5 separate regions of the Homo sapiens genome follow, and all the other regions are linked to region 3. Evidence: promoter capture Hi-C in 16 types of primary human blood cells and fetal thymus (Javierre and others, 2016). All regions are on one chromosome and are shown on one strand. Each heading gives the region's core, a stretch centred on a gene start or on the middle of the fragment in contact. The rest is flanking DNA. Distances are from core to core; before and after follow the strand shown. Region 1 overlaps ATM (ATM serine/threonine kinase). Region 2 overlaps ATM (ATM serine/threonine kinase). Region 3 holds the start of POGLUT3 (protein O-glucosyltransferase 3). Region 4 has its middle 26 kb from the start of DDX10. Region 5 overlaps ATM (ATM serine/threonine kinase).

Evidence for each region. Contacts are between HindIII fragments. The CHiCAGO score rates a contact against its expected background, and 5 or more counts as called.
Region 1: a fragment that was not itself captured here is called in contact with the fragment with the promoter of POGLUT3 in region 3 in 1 of 17 cell types (erythroblasts); the score reaches 5.6 in erythroblasts.
Region 2: a fragment that was not itself captured here is called in contact with the fragment with the promoter of POGLUT3 in region 3 in 4 of 17 cell types (naive CD4 T cells, naive CD8 T cells, total CD8 T cells and 1 more); the score reaches 7.8 in naive CD4 T cells.
Region 4: a contact is called between a fragment that was not itself captured here and the fragment with the promoter of POGLUT3 in region 3, in 5 of 17 cell types (naive CD4 T cells, total CD4 T cells, naive CD8 T cells and 2 more). The highest score is 7.0, in naive CD4 T cells.
Region 5: a contact is called between a fragment that was not itself captured here and the fragment with the promoter of POGLUT3 in region 3, in 3 of 17 cell types (naive CD4 T cells, total CD4 T cells and naive CD8 T cells). The highest score is 7.3, in naive CD4 T cells.

What each region holds. Positions count from the first base shown.
Region 1 is chr11:108,277,837-108,280,536 of GRCh38, reverse strand. ATM (ATM serine/threonine kinase) reads right to left here. Exons shown (of 63, transcript NM_000051.4): 23 at 929-1,046. Among named protein-coding and RNA genes, the nearest start is that of ATM, 56 kb to the right of the region's middle. RefSeq lists an enhancer at 2,602-2,700. The HindIII fragment of the contact is 588 bases long and covers 991-1,578 here.
Region 2 is chr11:108,353,153-108,355,852 of GRCh38, reverse strand. ATM (ATM serine/threonine kinase) reads right to left here. Exons shown (of 63, transcript NM_000051.4): 60 at 1,973-2,087; 61 at 979-1,042. It also overlaps a transcript of C11orf65 not described here. Among named protein-coding and RNA genes, the nearest start is that of C11orf65, 110 kb to the left of the region's middle. The HindIII fragment of the contact is 171 bases long and covers 1,251-1,421 here.
Region 3 is chr11:108,497,062-108,499,761 of GRCh38, reverse strand. POGLUT3 (protein O-glucosyltransferase 3) reads left to right here and starts at 1,378. Exons shown (of 8, transcript NM_153705.5): 1 at 1,378-1,597. The coding sequence starts at 1,396. It overlaps LOC112267909 (a long non-coding RNA gene), which reads right to left and starts at 701. Exons shown (of 3, transcript XR_007062880.1): 1 at 112-701. RefSeq lists a silencer at 1,226-1,745. The HindIII fragment of the contact is 8,220 bases long and covers 1-2,700 here.
Region 4 is chr11:108,637,442-108,640,141 of GRCh38, reverse strand. No RefSeq gene overlaps it. Among named protein-coding and RNA genes, the nearest start is that of DDX10, 26 kb to the left of the region's middle. The HindIII fragment of the contact is 2,682 bases long and covers 1-2,656 here.
Region 5 is chr11:108,334,418-108,337,117 of GRCh38, reverse strand. It overlaps ATM (ATM serine/threonine kinase), which reads right to left. Exons shown (of 63, transcript NM_000051.4): 55 at 2,009-2,149; 56 at 1,157-1,273. It also overlaps a transcript of C11orf65 not described here. Among named protein-coding and RNA genes, the nearest start is that of ATM, 110 kb to the right of the region's middle. The HindIII fragment of the contact is 3,297 bases long and covers 1-2,700 here.

The DNA.
Region 1 (2,700 bases), core at 35-2,534, 220 kb after region 3:
ACACACACACACACACCCCTACTATGTACCCATAAAAATTAAAAGATCTAAAAATAAAGCAAAAAGTATAAAAGATCCAAGTTCTTGTATTAACTTTGTTCATGACAATATGCTTCTATTAATGCAGTGTAAGACAGAGTTAGCCTTTTTGGTAACTGTAATACAATGTTGATTCATACTATAATCACAAGATACAAAACTTCCTAGGTCTTTTTCTAAATGAATTGCTGTCAGATCAGTATTTTCCCTTTTTGCAGATGACAGGCTGATTTAAAATGTATAATATACATTATCTCATTAGATTTTATGTTATTTACACTTATCTTTCTAATCTATTGAAATTCTTTTCTAAACTCACATTCTTTCAATTGTTCCTTTCAATTTCCTGCTATCACAGACTTGACAGTTATTTAACTACCTTAAATACTTGTAAGAAACAAACCAGGGCATAAATAAATGAAAAAATTTGAACTCTAAGATAATCATTACCATAAAAAATATATTATTCTACAGAAACGTGAAATATCACAAGTTTCACTGTAAACACCACAATGATTTGATTTTGTGTGAGATTCTTCTCCTCAATCCATTTCTTCCCATTGTCACCTGTTCCCTTAATTAGCTTTTAATCAGATCACATATAAAAGGATTTTTAAAATAAAAAAGGGAGCCATTTATACTCCCATAAAAACTCAGTTAAATTTTGGGTTTCTCCATAAAAATGCTAAACCAAAAGAAATTGCTATGATTTGACCCATTGTGACCCAGAAAGAATGCAGTTTCAATCAATTCATACAGTTGTTTTAGAGCAGCTTTATACTGTAAACTACTGGATTATAAACTCTCTTATACCAAACTTGGTGAAGTAATTTATGGGATATTCATAGCAAGCATATGATAACAGCAAATACATGTTACTTAAAATTACCATTTCTCTCATTCCTTCCTGAGCTTTCAAGTATGCATTTTCAAAAGCTGTTTGCTGAAGCTTCAAAGGAAGTGCTTTCAGTAACCTGGAAGAATCTCCCTTCGTGTCCTGGAACAATCTTAAAACAAGCAAGCAAACAAACAAACAAAAAGTGAAATAATTTTCTAATTTCAAACCCTACTTTCCAAAGCATATTCCAGAACAAAAATAAATCACTCTGTGAGACATAATAACATACTAGCTCTTTCTTAAAGACTAACAAAACCTGAGTTTATTTAAAGAGGTTCAGACCAGCAGCTTAGTATTAAGGTCTTGAATACAAAATCTATTTTCTCCTAGAACTGAAGAGGGTCTCAAAATATATTTTAACTATTGCTCAAATTTGAACAGCACTGAACTCAAACTAGCCAGAAAAGATAAACTGTTCTCTGGCCGAACACCAATTAGTTGAGTCCACAGATTCCAATGTCAACCTGCTCTAACATTTAATCACTCTGAAAGCGGGTAAGTTAATGTTTTTATGTACCATTTAAATTTTGTTTTATGTGATGGAAAAAAGTTGATCAGTACACCTTTTGCGTAACACCCACATATTTAAGGATAACTCTTTAATCAACTTTGTCTTTTATCCTTTTTTAGTAATCGAAGCTTTTATAATTGTTTATGTTCCTCTGATTCTTCTAGTTTCACTCACTGCTCTTAAAATAGCTGAACATTAGATATCTGCTATTGTCTGAATGTTTAACCCCTCCAAATGTCATGTTGAAATCTGATCCCCATTAGGTTATGCCTAATGGGAGGTGTCGGAGTCATGGGGGCAGATCCCTCACGAATAGATTAAGGCCTGAGGGTAAGGAATGAGTGAGTTCTCACTATTCAGTTCCCACAAGGGCTGGTTATTAAAAAAAAGAGCCTGGCATGGCCTTCCCCGCCTCCACCCTTGCTTCCTCTCTCACCATGTGATCTCTGCACACACTGATTCCTCTTTGCCTTCTGCCATGAGTCTGAGGCCCTTACCAGATGTAGACGCCATATGCCAAATAAACCTCTTTTCTTTGTAAATATCCAGCCTCAGGTATTCCTTTATAGCAACACAAAGGGACTAAGACAAAATCTAACAAGTGTAAAATTAAAAAAAAGAATGCTACTTGCATGTTATTCTTGAATTTATACTTTTTGAATCTTCAGTTTTTTTAATGCCACCACTACACTGCCGCCTTATTACATTCAATTCAGTCTTATATTACCTCAGTCCTTAAAGTTCAGCATACATTTGCTTTTATCTGTGAAATTTAATAAGGGCTTGAACTACTAAACATATTCATTAGAAATCCTTGCAATGCATTATGGTCTTACTAAAAACAGTTCCAAACCTGAGGAGTTAGACACAAAATCTAGTTTATGAAAACATTACTGTCGGCATATTCAAATACTGAAATATTAGTTTTAATACTTTATGTGACTGCTGAACAATATAGTAATCTTTTATTATTGATTGCTTACATTTTAAAGTTACTCAAATGATTTTCAGCTTTGATGTTTTTGAAGCATCATGTAATTTTTTTTCAAGTACATTCATTTATTTTAAAACAGTTATTGGATACCTATCACATGCCAAGTATTGTTTTAGGTGCTAAAAATACAACAATGAACAGAACAGACAAAAACCAGTGCCTTTAGGAACATATATACTAGTGGAATACGGAGAAGTAAATATATTAAAATATGTTTCACGTTATCATAAATACTAGAGAAAAATAAAACAAGGGAAC
Region 2 (2,700 bases), core at 87-2,586, 140 kb after region 3:
CCAAGGGATAAAGCCCCACCCTTATTGACCACAGGCTTAATGGTTAATGCCAATGAATTAAGACAGTTCTCATATCCTAGTTGAACAGTAGGAGAGATTTTTAAAAATGCACATATTCCTGCCCCATCTCTAGAAACCTGGTTTGAATTTGATCAGCATCAATGTTTTTTAAATGCAGTAAAAGTAATACTAACATGCAGCCAGTCCAACATAAATCAGGTTAAAGGAAGAAAAGCTGAGTAGTGGAAAAGTGGCAAGCCCATACTGCACTCTACCTGCCATGCTTCCCTGGGGAGGCCACACTCCTGATTTCTTGTCTCACATACCCTTACCAGATTGGTGAATGACTGGCATAGGTACTAACAGCACAGACACTGAAATTTGTTTGACTTCCTTTTTTCTGCCCTGGATCAAGACAAGGCAGTGATCCTGATTACATGTGTTTGCTCTGCAGGCCCAAACCCTATTCAGGTGAGCTGTCCCAAAGTTAAGACAGCAGAGAGGTACTGAGGTAGCACCAGCAGTAAACTAGTCTGGCCCTCATTCCTAAGCCATGTTCCTCTAGTAATGATGCTGACAATTTGATCTCCATTTGTCTGACTAATTAGTTCTGAACCTGAGCAGGGAAAAAGGAGATATAAATTTCTGATTTTTCTTAAACCCTAATGGAAACCATTCTGAAAATAATAATACCATATGGAATATCTAAATGTCAAAGAATTGATTTATGAATTGAAAACTAGAGACTACTTACAATGCTCTAACATTCCAAGAAACTCAAGGGGGCTGAAGGCATTTCTAAACCAGTATTTTTGGATGTGTGAAAAGGCTAAGTGCACAATCTCCTCCTTTCTGCTGCCCAGCCACATCCCCCTATGTTAAAATGAAGCAGTGCTCTTCACATCAGTGACTTCCTGATGAGATACACAGTCTACCTGGTAAGAAAAAAAATAAAGTCTTCCTTATAAAATACTTTACCTCTACAATGGTTAACAGAGTTTCCTGAGAGTTTCTCATCACTTCCATGGTTTTCTCACAGCATCTAGAGTCAAACACATTATAAATACGGATTTTGTTACACACCAATGTTGTCAACGTATCTTTATCTGTATACTCTCATGTGTAGTATGCTGAGCCTATGCTTAATAATCTACATATCTGTATCTCAAAATAGCATAATACTTGGCAGAGTGGGCTTTCATTAGACGTTTGAAATGAATACAAATATGTATTTGACTATTTCACAAGCTTGGCATTTACAAGAATAACACAACACTATTGATTACAGGCATGCACCACTGGGCTCAGCTCTCAGTCTTTGATTATTGTGGCAATTATTAGTTTACACTGACTGCAATCTGCCCCAATCCAAGTTGAGTACACAGACCTATGCTGGGAAAACTACAAGGAACTGCAAAGCTTTTTTAGTAGCACAATGTTATACTAGAACACAAGCTCCTATAAATAAAAATGTAGTCTCTTCTATATGCACAGTGATGAGCACCCAATAGTAGTTTGGATCATTAAGAAGGAGTCAGCCAGGATAGAGGTGTTAAAAGTAAAGGTGGGATGCTTCCAGAGGAGGTTTGGAATAACAGTATGTATGTTACATGGGCTTAGGTCCCAGGTGGGTGGAAGGAAGAGGAACTATTATTGCTTTTACCCAGGGTCTTTTCCTTAGTATTGATAAGGCACTGGAATACGATTCTAGCACTAAATTCTATAATCTATACAAATCTCTAACCCGTGTGTGTGTGTGTGTGTGTGTGTGTGTGTGTGTGTTTGTGTGTGTGTATTTTTTTAGATACAGGGTCTTGCTGTATTGCCTAGGCTGGACTCAAACTCCTGGGCTCAAACAATCCTCCCACTTCAGCCTCTTGAGCAGCTGGGATTACAGGTGCAAAGAACCATGCCCAGCCCATGTAATTTTGACATCAAAAATTATTTCCCTCCTTTACTTCATATCACTTACCTTCTGAAGACACCTTCAACACCCGTAATGCCCATGCCATCCACAATATCTCTGGTGAGTCTAAAAGGAACTGTCTCAGGAGTAGGAAGGATTTTGCCCTGTTCAAAAGCAACACCTAAAGTAAAGAATACAGTGAAGTTAGGAGGTTTGACAGCTAATTTACTTTCTTTCCAGTTAGAATGTGAACTTTACAAAGGCAAGAAACCACATGTTACCTACGTTCTATGAACACTAGTATGTACAGTAGTTTACTTCTGCTCTGGCTGCCTTCCTCATCTTTGTCACTGTCTGTGAGATCCACCTCAAATCCAAATAACCTAACTACTTCTTAACCCAACTAGAGAAATCTAGGTTAAAGGGTGATTTTTAAAAATGAAGTAACTACTGGTATAATTTAAAATGGAGATGATATATTTATATTTAAAAAATTTTTAGGCTGGGTGTGGTGGCTCCCGCCTGTAATCCCAGCACCTTGAGGCTGAGGAGGCCTGACACCTGAGGTCAGGAGTTAAGAGACCAGCCTGGCCAACATGGTGAAACCTTGTCTCCACTAAAAATACAAAAATTAGCTGGGTGTGGTAGCAGGTGCCTATAATCCCAGTTACTCGGGAGGCTGAGACAGGAGAATCACTTGAACCTGGGAGGTGAAGGATACATGGAGCTGAGATCGTGCCATTGCACTCCAGCCTGGGCGACAAGAGTGAAACTCCATCAAAAAAAAAAAATTA
Region 3 (2,700 bases), core at 129-2,628:
GAGAATCTTTATTGGCTTTAAATAAATTCAGATCTATTAACAATCCATTAACAAATTTGTATCCATTAACAAATTGGATAAAATGATCAAAAAAGAGAGGCAGATAGTAACCTTGACAATCTCTTCCTGGATCCAGCGTTCATCTTCTGAGGAGTGGTGGAGGTGGCTGAGACCAACCACGCACCACCACCCCTTCTCCCACTTCGATTACAGAGGCTTTGAGGTAAAGCTCGCACAAGGGCTCAAGGCAAGGCCTGGTCTTCTGCCACCCCAGTGCCCAGCTCCTCACTCTGGGCTTGGCCCAAACTCCGTGGATGTTCTGTAAACACCTGCTGGAAGAAGAGGAGTGCGGGAGGAAGCGGGGAAAGGGATGTGTGGGGTGGGGGGATCACGGTTCTGTGAGGGAGGCTGCTAAGCAGAAAAGCAACAAAACCGGCCACAAGAGAACGGTGCTGCTGTGAACAGAGGGCTGTGAGGGAGGGCGGGGGGCGTGACCTTGGCGCTCATCTTGTAAACTCGGAGACATTCCTTGGGAAAAGATATTTCCCTAAACTACATCGATCTTGGGGCCGGACCCTTTCATCGTCCCACAACAATCACCACCGGGTCTACGTCCTTTAAAAACACCTGAGCGGCGGACCCGGTGGCTCATGCCTGTAATCCCGGCACTTTGGGAAGCCGAGGCGGGCGGATTGCTTGAAACCAGGAGTTCAAGACCACCTTGGGCAACATAGGGAGACCCCGTCTCTACAAATAGTAATAGTAATAATAATAATAATAATAATAATAATAATAATAATAATAAATTAAATTAGCCAGCGTGGTGTCGTGTGCCTACAGTCAGTCCCAGCTACTCGGGAGGCTGAGGCGGGAGGATCTCCTGAGCCCACGAGTTCCAGGCTGCAGTGAGCTGTGGTCGCGCCATTGCACTCCAGCCTAGGCGACAGAGCCAGCCCCCTTGTCTGTATAAAAACAGAGAAAGAAAAGAGAAGAAAGAAGGAAAGGAAGGAAGAAAAAGAAAGGGAAAGACCACTGGAAGTGGAGGCCAGGCGTGCCTGAAGCCTTGGCAATCAACAGCCAGCGCACACTCGCAGCCTCGGTCTCTGGGCGGGCCTCTCCACCCCTTTCCTCCACGGGGCCTATGGGGCTGCGGGGAGGAAGGGGCGCACCCATCGTCGACCCCTACAGGGCGCGCAGTGGGTGATTGCGGCACTGGCTCGCGTTCCCGCCCGAGGGAGACGAGGCGGGACAGCGGGCGGGAAAGGGAGCCTGCGCCGCAATCTTTCCCGCCCGAAAGACCCGCCCCGCGGTGGGCCCCAGTCCCCGCCCGGTCCGCGGCGCTGCCGGCCCCTCCTCGCCGCCGCGGAGCTGGACCGCAGTTGTGCCCCGCCGACCATGCGCCGCCTCCCGCGGGCCCTGCTGCTGCAGCTGCGCCTCGCCCTGCTGGTGGCCGCGGGGGCCCCGGAGGTGCTGGTCAGCGCGCCGCGGAGCCTGGTGTGGGGGCCCGGGCTGCAGGCGGCCGTCGTCCTGCCGGTCCGCTATTTCTACCTGCAGGCGGTCAACTCGGAGGGCCAGAACCTCACTCGCTCTCCCGCAGGTAGTGTCCAGCCGCCGGCCTCCCTCGTCCCGCGGCCGGGTCCCCGCGCGTCCCCGCCGCCCGGGAGTCCGCCCGCGGCCTGCGTGGCGTCCCTCCCCGGCGTGTGTCGCCCCTTTTTGGGTCTGGTCAGCTCCTCTTCCCTCCTCCCGCCCATACTCAAAGCGGGCAAAAATCACCACGAAAGTTTGTGGAATGAATGAATGAATGAACTTGAAGGGCCCTTCCGCATTTAATGTGCAGGGACTGATGTTGCGAATGGACGGCGCCCGGGCGTTACAAGGAGTGTGCCGTGAGTCACACGTTGCCTTCCATCTCGGACTTAGTTGTCTGAACTGTGAGGGATTGCAGGGAGCGCTTTCCAGTGGTGAGTCATCAAGCCGACGGATCGCGTCGGATTACATGGCTTAGGCCTGGTGGGTTTGGAGCAACGAAATCCTACGCAGAGGAAATGTCAGAGCCGTAGGAAGGAGGAGGGGTTTACGTGTTAGTTTTTTGTTTCCTTTTTAGTTCTGAGTTTTTGAAAGCAGATTACAGGAACTAGGGAAACTCAGTAGAAATCATTCGGTTTTCCCTCCACGGAGGGTGAGATGGATCTCGTCCTGAATCCCTTTCTGCCCGGTCCTCCTCCCACGTTGTCCTTCACGTCTTAACCTTTGCAACTTCTTAAAACTTGTCCTGCTGGTTTCACGCTGTTGTCAGTCAGGATTTGCTAATGTATAATTTGGGGCTCTGGCCAACTAGCACCTTGTTGTATCAGCGAAGAGACAATTAGAATAAACCAGTGCCTCTGCCCCTGCTAGTCCAGCTGGGAACATAGCTGCCAGAAGTGTGTCCCAACTTGGGAAAGGGGTAAGGGGGTCTTGACAGCTGGGCAAAGCAGAGAATTTAGGAACCAAACATAATTCACTTTTAGATTTAATGATTTTTAAAATTTCATTCATTCAAGAAATACTTCTTTGATGTCTACTTCTGTGTTTGGTAATTCTGCTGGGAATCTAAGGATGAAAAGACAATGCCTGACCATCAAGGAACTTACAGTCTGTTGGTCAAAGACATGCAAATAACTGATCACTGTACAAGATAATTGAAGGTATGTACAGAGT
Region 4 (2,700 bases), core at 66-2,565, 140 kb before region 3:
CTGATAAGTTCACTCCTTCAAACCATTCCTCTCAATCTGCTCCAGCTCAGCTTATTACAATTCAATCCTTTGAGTTTCTCAGGTTAAAACTTAGTGTCACTCTTAAATGGACATCCTCACTCCATTTATAAATTGTGTTAGCTCAACCTTCAAAATATCTTCAGAATTCAGTTTTTTTTAAACAACCGGGCCATTGTTGAGATATCTTCAGAATTCAGTAACTTTTTATTACTGCCACTACCACTAACCTGGTCCCACCCACCTTTCTCTTCCTTCTCTCACATCATTGCATTAGCCTCTTACTGTTCTCCTAATTTCTATCATTGTTACCTCCTGTCTCTTCACACAGCAGGTAGAGTGATCCTGTTAAAATCTGAGTCTAATCATGTCACTCCCCTGCTCAAAACTCTCCATGGCTTACGGTCCCATTCAGAGTAAAAAGTGAGGTCCTTATTATGACCTGTAAGAACCCCATGATCTGACTTCCTGTGTTCTCTTTGACCTCATTTTTTACTACTTTCCCCCTACTCTCTGAGCTCTGGTTATACCAGCCTCCTTGCTCTTCCTTGAACACACCAGGCATGTTTTCAACATTAGGGTCTTTACATCTACTATTCCTTCTGAAGCTGGCTTCCTTACTTCCTTTAAGTCTTTTATCAAAAATCCCCTTTTCTTAGCCAGAGCAACATAGTGAGACCCCATCTCCACAAAAAATAAAAAATTAGCTAGGTGTGGTGGTGCATGCCTGTAGTCCCAGCTCCTCAGGAGGCTGAGTCAGAAGGATTGCTTGAGCCCAGAAAGTTGAGGCTGCAGTGAGCTATGACTGCATTGTTGCACTCCAGCCGGGCAACAGAGCAAGACCCCATCTCAAAAAAAGACAAAATTATCTTTCCACAAAGGCCTTTTACCATGTATATTTCCTCTTATTTTTGTCCATTGCACTAGAATATTGGTCATATGAGGGCAGGGAATTTTTTTCTGTTTTGCTCCCTGCTGTATACCCGTACCTAGAACAGCACCTGGCACACAGCAAGTGCTCCATAAATATTTGTTGAGTAAAAACTACACGAATATCATTCCTAAGTAGAGTTGGGAGTTCCCACAGCAACTCTGATTTTCAATTAATGCAATCCAAAGTTTCTCACATGCCTCACTTTGGTTCTGAGTGCCCAGCTGTCAGTGCAGCCTAGACCCAGAGTTCTGCTGCCAGGCAAAGACCAGAGCAGAGACTCAGAAGTATCTGAGAGAAGAAGCATTCACAAAGTCTGTGTTTCAAGTTTTACTAGGATGCCAAAGCCCTATGGGGTTAAATTCAGTTGGAAATCTCTTTCGACCTTTCATTCTGCTCCTATATTGGCACGTTTGTGATTTCCATCTCTGCCCTCAGAGCACAGCAATTGAGATACTCCTGTCTTTTTGATAAGTTTAGACATTTGTGGTGTTATTCCAGGTCTTCCTTGACTGTATCTTCCTTTTCCATTTCCAAAAAGTGCTCTGTCTTCCTGTCACCTTAATGCTGAGATGAGAGAGAACTTTGTCCAGTGATTTAGCCTCAAATTCTTTTGAGCAGACACTTTTATTCTGAGCCTCAGAAGCTGCAGAATTACTCAGAACTTTTTAGTAGGCTGATAAAGTTCATTGTGAATCTCCAAGAAAGAAATATGACTATTTCTCAAATTTACGTGACCATTAATAGCATCTTTATTGCAGAACAAAAATAATGTCCCTTGGAAAATAGATTGGAAAATTACTTGACAATTAATCATGCATTTTACAAATGCAAGATTTTTCTCCCCTAATTTTCTCACATACTTTACTGCGAACTCAAATGATGACTTCTCTATTAAACTTCTCTTGGTCAACCCAGGAAGAAAGTTTCAGGATTTCTATAGGGTTTATCACAATCTTTTTTGGGCCACAGCTTTATTGAGATTCAACCATTTAAAAGTGTGTAATTTAATAGCTTTTAGTATATTCACAGAGTTGTGCACCCAACACCACAATCAATTTTAGAACATTTTCATCGCATCAAAAAGAAGCATTATACCCTTTAGCTACCACCCTCTCCAATCTCTCTATTCCCACCAGCTCTAAGCAAATTTCAGTCTACTTTCTGTTTATATATATACTTGCCTATTCTGCACATTTCACGTAAATGGAATTATACAATATGTAGCCTTTTGTGACTGGCTTCTTTCTCTTAATGTTCTCAGGTCCATCTATGTTGTAGCATGTATCAGTACTTTATTTCTTTTTACGGACAAGCAATATGCCATTGTATGGATAAACCATGTTTTGTTTATGCATTCATCATAAACATTCTGGTATAATGCTGTTTTGTTTATGCATTCATCATAAACATGCTGGTATAATGCTGGTATAAACATTCATGTACAAGTTTTTATGGGGGCATATGTTTTCATTTCTCTTGCATACACTCTTAGCATCACAGTTTTTTGGAAACAAATGGAATAAGGACATTCTCCTGCTTGAAATCTCCAGCTGGCTTCCTATTGCACTTATAAGAGTCCAAACTCTTTACCAAACCTTTCCAGATCTTCGTATTCTGGTCCTAGCTACATCTCCCATCTGATCTCCTAAGTCTCCCTGCTCACAATACTTCACCACACTCGGATTTCTCCAAACACGCCAAGCTTGTTCTCGCCAGTGCAGTTTTGAACTTGCCTTCTCCCCCGATCT
Region 5 (2,700 bases), core at 75-2,574, 160 kb after region 3:
TTTGGAGGGTAGATCTAATTTATTCTTCTTCACTCCCCTATTTAGGGCTTTTAATTTAGCCATTATTTTAAAAATAAAACACGTTCATAGTGGAAAACTAGAAATATATAAAAAAGCACATGTCACCCATAGTCCCTGTTACAACATTTATAGAAGGAGAAAGTTTAAAAATGAGGTACAGGAATGAAATCACAAAAGACAAACCTATGGAAAATAGGCCCTTCAAAATAAGGATTTATTGTTATTTCTAAACTGGTTAAATGAATAATTAATATAAGAGTCAAAGATGATCAGCTCATAGAATGTGACTGAGGATTGTCTTCTCAGGCAAATAGCTAGAGGAAATGTAAGTGGGTACACTCCCATTGAGAGTAATTTGGCAATATGTACCAGATTACAGATGCATGTATCCTCTAACCCAGCAATCCAACTTTTGGAAATCCATGCTACAAATTTGCCTGCGCATGTATGAAATTTGTATGTTCAAGGTTATTCACTACAATACAGCGTTGTTTGTAGCAGCAAAAGACTGAAAACAACACAAATGCCCATCGATAAGGACTTGTATAAAAAACTACATACATACACACAATGCAGCTGTTAAAAAATGAGAAAGATTTCTGTGACATATTGTTGAGTAGAAAAAAAAGGAAAAAATACTTCAGTTGACTATAAGAAACACCTAACTATAATTAACATTAATAAATACTTTTTACAAAGAAAATAAATCTTTATTATTTGGTCCTTCACAGAAAACATTTGTAGACTCCTGGTCCAAATAATGGCATCTTCTTCTTCTTCTTCTTTTTTAAACGGGATCTTGCTGTGTTGCTCAGGCTGGACTGGGGCTCACTGCAGAGTTTGAGCTCACTGCAGCCTCAAACTCCTGGACTCAAGTGATCCTCCCACCTCAGCCTCCCATGTAGCTAAGGGACTACAAGCACATGCCATCATCTCTGGCTTTTTTTTTTTTTTTAACTTTTTGTCAAGATGGGGTCTCACTATGTTGCTGAGGCTGGTCTCGAACTCCTGGCCTCAAGCAATCCTCCCACCTTGGCCTCCCAAAGCATTATGAATATGGGCATGAGCCACTTCACCCAACCAAATGGCATCTTTTATATGTTTTTGGTGAACTAACAGAAGTACAAATAGTTACCTTATAAGTACAGATAGTTAATTTCCTCTTCCTAGTTTCCGTGTTTCTCTGCAGTAATGTATTACACATCTGGAAGACCTGTTGCATGACAGCATCTTGTCTCAGGTCATCACGGCCCTTCAGAATAATTAAGCATGAATAAACAAGTACAGTTTATTTTATTATAAAAACACAGAGTCATCTGAGAATAGCAAAGGGCACTCAAACCAATCTGAGCATCTGTGCACCTCTTGACAGTCTCCCAAATAATTAAATACCTACTGCCATTCTTTCATTTAGAATAAGCTACAACATTTACACTGATTTAGAAAGTTTCCCCTCGCTACTTCTGTAATTAGATTAACTGGAAGTCCCCCCTAGGAAGGCATACTGCAAACACCTGAGTAAAACAGCACTGTGTCTTTCCACCACTCCCCAGTAGGACCCAAAGAGCTCGTCAGCAAATGGTAAGGGAAGAATGCTCTCCCTTTTTGGTACATTAAATAGCACTTGGCACAGTACGAGACCCGGTATACTGATGCAAAGGACGTCAACTTGCACTATTCAAGGAAATAAGAGACAGACACCAAAGTATTTTTTTTCATAAGAAGCAACCTCACTGTACATGTCTGTACATGTTAATGGTATTCTTTTACTTGAATCAACCATATAATAATGATTGTCTTTCAGAGACACAAAAAAAATGGAGAAAAGCCTGGTTCTAGAAAATAATGCATTTCTACTCTACAAATCTTCCTCATTTGTAAGTATTCAAAATAAAGACAAAATCCCAAATAAAGCAGAAAGAAAATATGAACTAAAAATTTTCATCACTAAAACTCTAAGGGCTAAGCCAGAGAAGGGAAGGCTCACCTTAACAAGCTGTCTCCTCTCCTTGCCATCGGAACCTACACAATCTATTATTTTTGGTAAATTTACACCTCCTGCTAAGCGAAATTCTGCTTTAAATGACTGTATAGTCACCAGATTTCCATATTCTCCTGTGTGGTCCACCTAATAAAAGTATAAACATGATTGATAATAGGTCAGATACACTATTTGCACTTAAAGAAAAATACATTATAAATGGCAATTTTAATATTAAACAGAGAAACAAATGACGATGTGATAGTGGTTAAGAACTACAACTTTAGGCCGGGTGTGGTGGCTCACGCTCGTAACTTTAACTACTGTTTCATCAAAGATTCACTAATATATGTAAAGTCATCTGAGAAATAACTCCTCACGAAAACATAAAGTAAATTTTGGAAAACAGTAGAAGGAGTTTTCTGGGTTATAACTGCTAAATCTGGCATTTTAAGGAAACATTCAGCGAAATCACCTAGCTGATATAGCTAGAAAAACAGCAGTTAATCCACATGATACAGCTACATTTCAAATCAAGTAACTAGATACTAAGCACTAAACTGCAAAATGAAAAGAAAGACAATGTATTTAAGATGATCATTTTCTAAACTTATAACCCTTATTACATATATCCCTGCCCACATGAAATTACTTCCATTATTTCTTGCAATAAAAGAATATTAGAACAGAGCTAAGTG